Linked DNA regions of Homo sapiens: all the other regions are linked to region 1. Evidence: promoter capture Hi-C in human tissues and cell types (Jung and others, 2019). All regions are on one chromosome and are shown on one strand. Each heading gives the region's core, a stretch centred on a gene start or on the middle of the fragment in contact. The rest is flanking DNA. Distances are from core to core; before and after follow the strand shown.

Region 1 (3,445 bases), core at 335-2,834:
AAAAAAAAAAAAAAAAAAAAAAAAAAAAAAAGGAAAACATACCTATCTATATACCTATATACTCTTAATATGATTTGAGAACAAGCAAAGTCATTATATGACAACTTGAAGCAAAAGGAAGGTGAAGGATCCAAACAATTTTATGCCAGTAAGGGATGATTTGATAAATTTGGAAAGGTTTGGTTTAAAATATGTCAAGATAACAAGAGAAGCAGCTTCTGCTGACCAAGAGGGAGCAAATGAGTTCCTAGACACCATTAAGGAAATAATTGAGAAGAAAGGGTATCTGCCTGAACAGCTTTTCGGTGCATATGCAAGTTCCCTATTCTGGAAAAATAAATGCCACAAAGGACATTTATTAGTAAGGAAGAGAAGCAAGCACCAGGATTTAAGGCAGGAAGGGATACGCTAATATTTTGTGCAAATGCAGTTGGGTTTATGATCAGCACTGCCCTTATCTATATGGCTGCTAACCCTCAAGCCTTGAAGGGAAAAGATAAACACCAGCCACCTGTCTTTTGGTTGTACAAGAAGACCTGGACAATAACCCTTTATCTGAATTGGTTCCATCTATGCTTTGTCCCTGATGTCAGGAAGTACCTTGCCAGTAAGGGACTGCCTTCTATTTTTTTATTTTATTTTTTTTAGACAGGGTTTTGCTCTGTCGCCCAGGCTGAAGTACAGTGGCGCGATCCAGGCTCACTGCAGCCTCCGCCTCCAGGGTTCAAGTAATTCTCCTGCCTCAGCCTCCCGGGTAGCTGGAATTACAGGCGCACGCCAACAGGCCCGGCTAATTTTCGTATTTTGAGTACAGACGGGGTTTCACCAGGTTGGTCAGGCTGAACTCGAACCCCTGACCTCAGGTGATCTCGCTTCAGCCTCCCAAAGTGCTGGGATTACAGACGTGAGCCACTGCACCCGGCCTGCCTCGAAAATTTAACCACAGAATTGACAGTTCAAGCGAACGCAGAGAATAAAAGTATTTAGCAAATTACTTTGCAAACTTTCGGACCAAAAGTTGATTTACTTGACTTTACATAGCACGGACACCTAGTCGAGGAACAAAAACTATTTCTGGGTAAGCGGGGCCAGGAACAACAGACTTAGCACTGAGTCCTCGCGGCCCACTCGGCTCAGGATTGGCTGAAGCTGGGCCGGCACTGCTGGGCCCGGTGCGGCACGCGCATGGGTGGGGGCGTCCCAAGAGGCTGTAGGGCGGAGCGAGGCGGGGCGAGCCCGGGCGTCCTCCCGCCCACCGACTAGCCAAGGCTCGGCGGGCACCACCCAGCTCGGGATGCAGCGCGTGTTTGGGCGGGGGCGACCCGGGAGGCTTCGGATGGAACGAGGCGGAGCGAGCCCTGGCATCCTCCCGCCCACCAGGCTAAGGACTGGCCGAACGTCCACACGGGCCCGCCTGCTCTGGCTGCGGCGCGTGTTTGGGCGGGGGCGAGTCAGGAGGCTTTAAGGAGGATTGAGGGGAGGCGGGGCCGGGAGTTCTCCCGCCCACCGGGCTCAGGATTGGCCGAAGCTAGGCAGGCACCGCCCCGCTCGGGCGGCAGCTCGCGTCCGCGCGGCGGCGTCCCCAGAGGCGCGTGGGGCGGGCGGGGCTGGGTTGGGGCTGTGTCTGGGCTTAGGGCGGGGGCCTGGGATGCTGCCGCTGAGCTGACCCGCTGGACTTGGGTTGTGGCAGACGGATGGCGAACGTGCAGGTCGCCGTGCGGGTCCGGCCGCTCAGCAAGAGGTGAGTCTCCGCGGGAGAGGGCGCCTGAGGCTTCACAGGAGCTGAAAAGAGCGGGAGGTCCGCGTCTCCCCCTGCAGAGATTCTGGCGCGCAGAAATCGGTGACAAAGTGACCCGGGGGGTCGGGGTCCGGAATCCACGGAGGCCTGGCGGGACGGGACCTCAGTCGAGCTTTCGCGTTGTGTCCTGGGGATAGCGGTTCCCGGACGGCCGCGGGAGGGCTGCCCTGGGTGAGCGTCGCTGGCGTCCTGCCAGCAGGAGTTTCGAGGGACGGCGGCTCGAGGCTTGCTGCATCGGGTTGGGCCTTTGAGAAAGGCTGGGAGAGGGATGAGCATTCTCCTCTCTCTTTCTGGGGGCTTGGGAGTACCCATGAGGACTGAGGCTGAATGGTGTGTGTTTCTGGGTGCGCGTGGGCTTCTCTGCGAAGATGTGGAGAAAGCAGAAGGTGAGGGCGTGAGGGGGAAATTGAGGCCGACACAGGTCGCGGTTTCTTTCTATGCTCGACAGCTGATTTAATCCAGGACGGAACTGTTAAGTAGGGGAAGTTGTTCCAACCCCTTCTTTCTCTCAGAGCCCTCAGTGCCCGTTTTCTCGTGGCTTATTTTGATTCCGCACCTCTCATCTCAGCCCTTGAGACATCCAGTGTGCAGCCACGAACTTTTTTCTCTTTGTCACCAGATGAAGTGTTTTTTAAAGATCAATTAGAGTTTGTTGACAGGTGGAGAGAGTTTAAAGAGCCTTCTATGTAGTAAGACCGCCAAGAGCAAAGGACTTAGACTGTAAGGGACTAACTAGAGGTTAAGTTTTGGTGGGGAAAGGGTGGTTGGTGTGGAGGGAAGTGAGTGGTGGAAGGTAAATCTGGCAGAGGGTGCTTTGGGGACCAGGAGGCACATGTTGGAATTATTTGGCAAGTTTAAAAATCTCTGGGACATAAGATAGCTTGATAATTGGGCAGAAGGATCAAGAAAGGTATCGTCTCCCATAATAAAATTGGGTACTAGTGTGGATTATGTTCGTCCTCATATAGAAATGATTGGCTTTGAAAAGTCTTGTAATTGACAGACTAATGAGAAGAGCAATGAGATAGAAAGAAACAAAAAGTTAAAGAGAATAGGAAGAAGGCAAAAGAGGTACACTGAAGAAAGAGGGAAAGCAGATGCCTGACCTGCTGCGTTTTGATTGGTAAATGGCTTGTGACACCTGGCTTCTTCATAACTGGATGTGGTAGCTCAGGGCTGGGGGGGGTTTTATAAGTGCAGATGCTATGCTGGAGGTAGTCTCTGGTATATTCTGTATTTGTGAAACTGTTCTTTTAGGGTTCTCAGGATAACAGTATTGACCACTCCTAACATTCAGTAACTTCTCAGTTCCTTGGACACTAGGAATTTCTTTCTTTTTTCTTTTTTTTTTTGAGATGGAGTCTCGCTCTGTCGCCCAGGCTGGCGTTGAGTGGCGCGATCTCGGCTCACTGCAAGCTCCGCCTCCCGGGTTCACGCCATTCTCCTGCCTCAGCCTCCCCAGCAGCTGGGACTACAGGCACCCGCCACCATGCCCGGCTAATTTTTTGTATTTTTAGTAGAGATGGGGTTTCACTGTGTTAGCCAGGATGGTCTCGATCTCCTGACCTCGTGATCTGCCCGCCTGGGCCTCCCAAAGTGCTAGGATTAGAGGCGTGAGCCACTGCGCCCAGCCGGACACTAGGAATT
Region 2 (3,445 bases), core at 364-2,863, 380 kb after region 1:
GAGTACAAGGTGACGAAAAAGTTTGCAAACTAAAGAGGTGGTGATTGTACAACATTTTGAATACATTAAATGCCACTGAACTGTACACTTTATCATGGTTCATTGCATGTTATGTGGATTTCCCCTCAACTTAAAAAAAATTGACAACCACTGTTATGAAGGATACTCAGAGGTCACCGCTAAAAAAGGAAATTTGTGGCCAGGTGCAGTGGCTCATGCCTGTAATCCCAACATTTTGGGAGGCCAATGGGTAGGAGGATCACTTGAGCCCAGGAGTTCGAGACCAGCCTGGGCAACATAACGAAACCTTGTCTCTATGAAAAATTAAAAAAATTAGCAGGGCATGGTGGCGCCTGCCTGTAGTTTCACTACTTGGGAGATTGAGATGGGAAGAGCCCAGGAGTTTGAGGCTGCAGTGAGCTATAGTCAAATCACTGCACTCCAGCCTGGGCAACAGAGCAAGATCCTGTCTAAAAAACAAACAAACAAAAACAAAAAAACCCAAACCAAAACAAACAAAAAAACAAAAACAAGGAAGTGTGTTAGTTATGGCATATACCAATTGCGAGTTCAGAAAATGATTTAAAATTACACACATATATATACACACTCTCCTTACCTGAAATGAGAAGCTTGATTCAGGAGGCAGCTATAGTCATCAGGAAGCTCTATCAAACTATTTCTTTTTCTAGGGTACCTACAATGTAATTTAAAAGGCAATTTTATTTTAGAGTAAATAACCCCAGATCAAAAACTGCCCAAAGTGATAGAAGAATGTCTTAAAAATAACAAAAGGATCTACACTTGCAATCCAAAGTAATTCCCACTGTTGACTTGATCAAATCCAAACTTCTCAGCCTATAATTCCAAATCTTTCATCAGCTGGATTCCTTTCCAAACTTAACTTCCTCTAGTTTCTAGGACTAAACTGTTATAGCTAGATTTCTGTACTGTATAGGGAAGTAACATAAAGTAGTAGTTAAGAACACAGCCTTTGAAATTAGAGCTGGTTACAAATCCTAAATTCTCTGACACTTCACAAGTCTTTGAACCTAAGCCTGTATTTCCCTGTCTGTAAACTAGGGATAAAATATACCATACTCCAATCATGGGGCCACCATCAAATCAGGTTCTGGGGAAGGGAGGGAGAGAAACATTACATTAAATGAACTTATCAATTAAAAGGCTAATATTGATTTAAGAAATGTCAAATTAAATATGAATATTAGCATTAAGGAAACATATAGAGCGGTTGAGGACTAAATGAGATACTGAAGTAAAACACAATATACTTAGTACTTAATACATGCTTGCAAATGTTACTCATTCTCACCAAACTAGATACAATAAAAGCCTTGCTTGCATGTATTGGGGAAGATCATCTGAATAATGTGAAATTCTCTCCTCAAACCCCAGTCAATCAACCAATCAACCAATTTATTGATTTATTTATTGGAGGCAGAGTCTCACTCTATCCCTCAGGCTGGAGTGCAATGGTGCGATCTCGGCTCACTGCAACGTCCGCGTCCTGGGTTCAAGCGATTCTCATGCCTCAGGCTCCTGAGTAGCTGGGATTACAGGCGCCTGCCACCATGCCCAGCTATTTTTTGTATTTTTACTAGAGACGGGGTTTCGTCATGTTGGTCAGGCTGGTCTCGAACTCCTGACCTCAGGTGATCCGCCCACCTTGGCCTCCCAAAGTGCTGGGATTACAGGTGTGAGCCACGGCGCCTGGCCCCAATCAATTTAAATTCTGTAATTCTTTTCATCTTCAATTCAGTTGTCTATATTTAGTACAACCATAACATTTATTTGGCAAACCTAGACACTTTTTGGTTTGTTTTTTTAGAGACAGTATTCACTCTGTTGCCCAGGCTGGCCTTGAACTCCTAGGCTCAAGCAATACTCCTGTCTCAGGCTCCTGAGTAGCTGGGACTACAGGTGCATGCCACTGTGCCTGGCTTAAATTTTATAATTATTTCTATACTCAGCTAAAAATGATCTCTAAGACTAACCTTGCCTCATTAACAATCTTTTCCTCTTTAAATTTCTATAGCACTAATGGTATATTCCATACATCATTATACTTTATGTTATAATGTCTTAAGTTTTATGTTCATAACTAGATTGTAGATGACTCATGACCAAAAGCTATGTTACCTCTTTTAAATTTTCCAGAGTATTTCAGTACCATGCTGGGTAAATAGCAGATGTATAAAAGGTGTACAGTGAATTGAAATAAAGGAAAAATTGTGTGAGATTAACAGTCCAAAAATATGTATTCATATCTTAAACTTTTCTTTTTTCTCTACTCGAAGATCTTTTCTTAGTGATGTGACTCCTACTGCATCTGAGCACAGAGGCTGGATCTATTATCACTAAATCTCTAAAGATGTGTTACAAGTGAAAGCAGCATATGCACATGTACAGTGGAGGTGAAAGGAGTTCCAGGGTGAGAGAAGATGAGAAAAGGCGGCAAATGTGCACTGTCTTGAAGTTTGCTTTATCCACAGGAAAATGGTACTAGTGTTGGTATTTAAAGCTGGGAGTCAATTCCTCCACTTGTTTATAGATGTGATTCAAGTGAGTAAAATTAGACACCGTATACAATACCAGTCAGGCCCTCGGAGGGGATACAAAGACAATAAGCATGCAGTTCTTATTCGTCAGTTATTCTGGGTGCAAACAAGTGGACATTTATGAGAGAGACTATATTAGGGGAGGCTTCATGGAGGAGGTGGCATTTAAATTAGTACTTAAGAAGTAGATTTTGTTAGAGACAACTTAAGGGAGATAAGAGGGCTGAAGAAAAGTTTTTGGGGTAGTTTCTAAGGACACAGGAAGGAAAAAGGATATAGTTCTATGTATATCTTGCTTTATTCTAACAAAAAAAATCAAAAACAAAAGTGGCTTATAGAAATATTGTAAACCACTACCTTTTGAAGTTAATACACCAGCAGCTCCATGATGCCTCCTCCAACTTTGCCTTTTGACAGGTATGTGCTAGCTTAAAAAAGATTCTCTTAAGAGGAACTGCTGGCTTCTAATAATCTAAGAGGAAAAGGACAGCCACTCCAAGAAAAAAACATTTGTAGGAAGAATCTGATTTCTGGCAAAGACCTAACAGAAATCAGGAACACTGTACTGAGTGAGAATGAAGAAAGCAGACTAGAAACTATGCTCAACAAATCAACTACTTTAGGAAACACAACTTGTGGATGAGGGAGAAAGGATTAAGTAGTAAAACCAACCTGACCACGGTGTTTTTTTGCTTCAAACAGTTTAGTAAGGCAGGATCTGCACACCACCTGTATGTGGAGCCAAGAGAAAAGACAAATGGATTATCACAGCTTCAATGCATGATTTGTCAACAAGCCATTCTCTTTTTTTTTTGAGATGGATTCTCACTCTTTCGCCCAGGCTGGAGTACAGTGGCAGCAATCTC
Region 3 (3,445 bases), core at 477-2,976, 320 kb before region 1:
CTGTCCATTCTCAGAGCTCAAACACTGTGCTGGGAGAACGATTGCTCTCTTCAGAGCTGTCAGACAGGGACGTTTTAGTCTTCAGAAGTTTCTGCTGCCTTTTGTTCAGCTATGCCCTGCCCCCAGAGGTGGAGTCTACAGAGGCAGGCAGGCCTCACTGAGCTGTGGTGGGCTCCACCCAATTCGAACTTCCTGGCCGCTTTTTTACCTACTCAAGCCTCAGCAATGGCGATGCCCCTTCCCCAGCCTGGCTGCCACCTCGCAGTTCGATTTGGGACTGCTGCACTTGCAGTGAGCAAGGCTCCGTGGGCGTGGGACCCGCTGAGCCAGGTGCGGGATATAATCTCCTGGTGTGCCGTTTGCTAAGACTGTTGGAAAAATGCAGTATTAAGGCGGGAGTGTCCCAGTTTTCCCAGTACAGTCTGTCACGGCTTCCCTTGGCTAGGAAAGGGAAATCCCCCGACCCCTTGCGCTTCCTGGGTGAGGTGATGTCCTGCCCTGCTTCGGCTTGCCCTCCGTGGGCTGCACCCACTGTCCAACCATTCCCAGTGAGATGAGCCAGGTACCTCAGTTGGAAATGCAGAAATCACCCGTCTTCTGTGTCGATCACGCTGGGAGCTGTAGACGGAGCTGTTCCTATTTGGCCATCTTGGAATCCAGCTCCCATTCATTTTTACAGATGAATGATATTCCATTTTATGAACATACAACATTTTACTTTTTCATTCCTGCTTGTAGTTTGAGATTTGTGAGCCTCTCAATCTTTCTGAAATTCATACTTTCATCAAATTTGGTAAGTTTCTGGGCATTATTCCTTCAAATATTCTTCCCATACCTTTCTCCCTCTCTTCTCCCTCTGATGAATTCCTATTATGTGGATGTTGATACACCTGAGGGTGTCCCATAGGTCTCTCAGGCTCATCTTCATTCTTTTTATCATTTTTATCTCTATGTTCTCCTGGTTTCCTTTAGTTTCTTCATCCATGGTTTTTTTATTTTTAGCTCTTTGAGTATATTTAAGACAGTTCACTTAAAATCTTTGGTCTGGTAAGTCTAATGCTGAGGCTTCCTCTTCAAAGCATGTATTTTTTTTAATCCTGTAAATATGCCATACGTTGTTTCTGTGCATGCCTCATAATTTTCCACTGAAAACTGAATGTTATAAAGTGGCAACTCTGGAAACCACAATCTGCCCCCTCCTTGGGGTTTGTTAGCTGGTAATAATAATATGGGTTATGTCTCTTTTGCTTAGTAAGTTTTCTAAACCATTTTTGTAAAGTCTGCATTCTTAGACCTGTGTGGCTACTGGAATCTATATTCCTTTAGCTTAGTGGTCAGCTAGTGTTTTGACAAAGATTTCTTAAACACCAGGAGCCAAAGACAAAAAAGAACAGAATATCCTCCCAGTCTTTGCACCCTGGCGCAATCCTTCAATGCTTAGCTGGGCCAATTAAAGCCATTCCTTATTCTTCACTTTTTGCTTGTACAGAGCCAGAATGAAAGCTTAGGGTCATCTAAGGTCTTTTCTGATCGTATGTCCAGTCTTGAGAATATATATGGCTTTCTTCATAGCTCAATATACACAGAAGCCTTAAAAAGCCTTGTTCTCCCACAAATCTCCTTTCTGGACCCTTTCCTTCTCATGCTTGACAGTCTCTCTATTGCTTATCCCCACTGTTATCCCCTTCCCTATGCACATAATACTTCTGCATTCAAATGCTTTTGGCAAACACAACCCAGGAAGCCACTCCAGCCCTGGGAACACTCTAAGTTGGGGAAAACAAAGTTAAGTCCTGGCAAGGTTCCTTCAGGGAGCCTCCAGGCAGGTGAAAACACACAATGGCAAGTCTTTAAGAAAAAGGTCTGTATTAGTTCCCCTGGCACCAGCAACCTGCACCACGACTGCGAGTTGCCATCTTCCTGCCTCTGAACTGGGAAGGAGGGTATGGTAAACAAATTACAATATCACTGCACTTTCTTAATGTAATGTAGCAGCTTCTTTCTTTGTTGAACTTTTTCCTTATTAAGTTTTGGTTAGATTTCAAAGTTCTGTGAAAGCTGAATGTGATAGCTTTCATCAGCTTACTAGTTGCTTTTGTGGAGGCATGGAGACCTGGACCTCACTACTCCACAATTCTTGGTAATATCATTCCTATTAGCTCCATTTTATTATGTAAGAAACTGAAGCACAATAACATTTCCAAGGGAAATATTAAGTTGTGAAGTTGGGATTTCAAAGTCTAGGACATCTGACCCGAGAGCCTGGGCTCTTAACTACCATCTCAACTATTAATTATTTTGTTCTCCATAACAAAACTATTTTTTTCTTTTTTTTTTTCTCTTTTTCACAGTCTACCACTAGCTTGTGAACAGAACTGTTTTTAAAGCACTGTCTTCATGGTATGATCTCAAAATTGTAAGTGCCCTTCAAAAGAACCTTTTAACCCCATGAGTAAGGTAATTAAAGCTACAAGTGACAATCCAGTTATTGATGCTGTCAGACAGACAGCCTACAAGAGTAGTTTTGTTCCCAAAACATTGTTTTTGATTAAGCACTGCATTGTCAAAAATGCAATTGTTACAAAACTAAACATACTCTTACCATACAATCTAGCAGTCATGCTCCTTGATAATTACCCAAATGAGTTGAAAACTTATGTCCACATAAAAGCCTGGACACAAATGTTTACAACAGTTTTATCTATAATTGTTATAACTTGAAAGCAATCAAGATGTCCTTCAATAGATGAATGGATAAACTGTGATATATCCAAACAATGGAATATGATTCAGCACTAAAAAGAAATGAACTATCAAGCCACCAGAAGACATGGAGGAAACTTAAATGCATATTACTAACTGAAAGAAGCCAATCTAAAGAGGTCACATATTTGTACAATTCCAACTAGATGACATTCTGGAAAAGGCAAAACTATGAAGATAGTAAAAAGATCAATGATTGCCAGGAGTTGAAGGGGAAGGGAGAGATGAACAGGCAGAGCACAGAGGATTTTTAGGCACTGAAACTATTCTGTATGATACTACAAAGGTGAAGATGTCTTTACACATTTATCAAAATTCATACAATGTACACTGCAGAGTGAACCTTAAACTATAGACTTTGATAATAACATGTCAACGTGGTTCATCAACTTTAACAGTGTGCCACAGTGGTGCAGTATGTTGACGATGGGGGAGGCTAAGTGTATAGGTATAGACACAGCATGTGGGAGGTCTCCTTTTTTTTTTTTTTTTTTGAGACAGAGTCTTGCTTTATTGCTTAGACTGGAGTACAGTGGCATGATCATGGCTCACTGCAGCCTTGACCTCCTGGGCTCAAGTGATCCTCACTTCAGCCTCCCCTGTAGCGGTGACTATAGGCATGCACAACCATGCTGGGTAAATTGGGGGTTTTGTTTTTTTTTAAGACGGAGTTTTGCTCTTG

What was found. Contacts are between HindIII fragments. The study calls those that stand out against the background at their distance.
Region 2: a contact is called between a fragment that was not itself captured here and the fragment with the promoter of STARD9 in region 1, in 2 of the 25 tissues and cell types used here (H1 embryonic stem cells and aorta).
Region 3: a contact is called between a fragment that was not itself captured here and the fragment with the promoter of STARD9 in region 1, in 1 of the 25 tissues and cell types used here (aorta).

What each region holds. Positions count from the first base shown.
Region 1 is chr15:42,574,022-42,577,466 of GRCh38, forward strand. It overlaps STARD9 (StAR related lipid transfer domain containing 9), which reads left to right and starts at 1,585. Exons shown (of 33, transcript NM_020759.3): 1 at 1,585-1,741. The coding sequence starts at 1,695. RefSeq lists a silencer at 1,093-1,722. The HindIII fragment of the contact is 9,099 bases long and covers 1-3,445 here.
Region 2 is chr15:42,957,394-42,960,838 of GRCh38, forward strand. It overlaps UBR1 (ubiquitin protein ligase E3 component n-recognin 1), which reads right to left. Exons shown (of 47, transcript NM_174916.3): 43 at 3,252-3,308; 44 at 620-697. Among named protein-coding and RNA genes, the nearest start is that of TTBK2, 38 kb to the left of the region's middle. The HindIII fragment of the contact is 3,871 bases long and covers 1-3,445 here.
Region 3 is chr15:42,251,726-42,255,170 of GRCh38, forward strand. The region is part of intron 6 of TMEM87A (transmembrane protein 87A); the gene reads right to left. Among named protein-coding and RNA genes, the nearest start is that of GANC, 20 kb to the right of the region's middle. The HindIII fragment of the contact is 5,333 bases long and covers 1-3,445 here.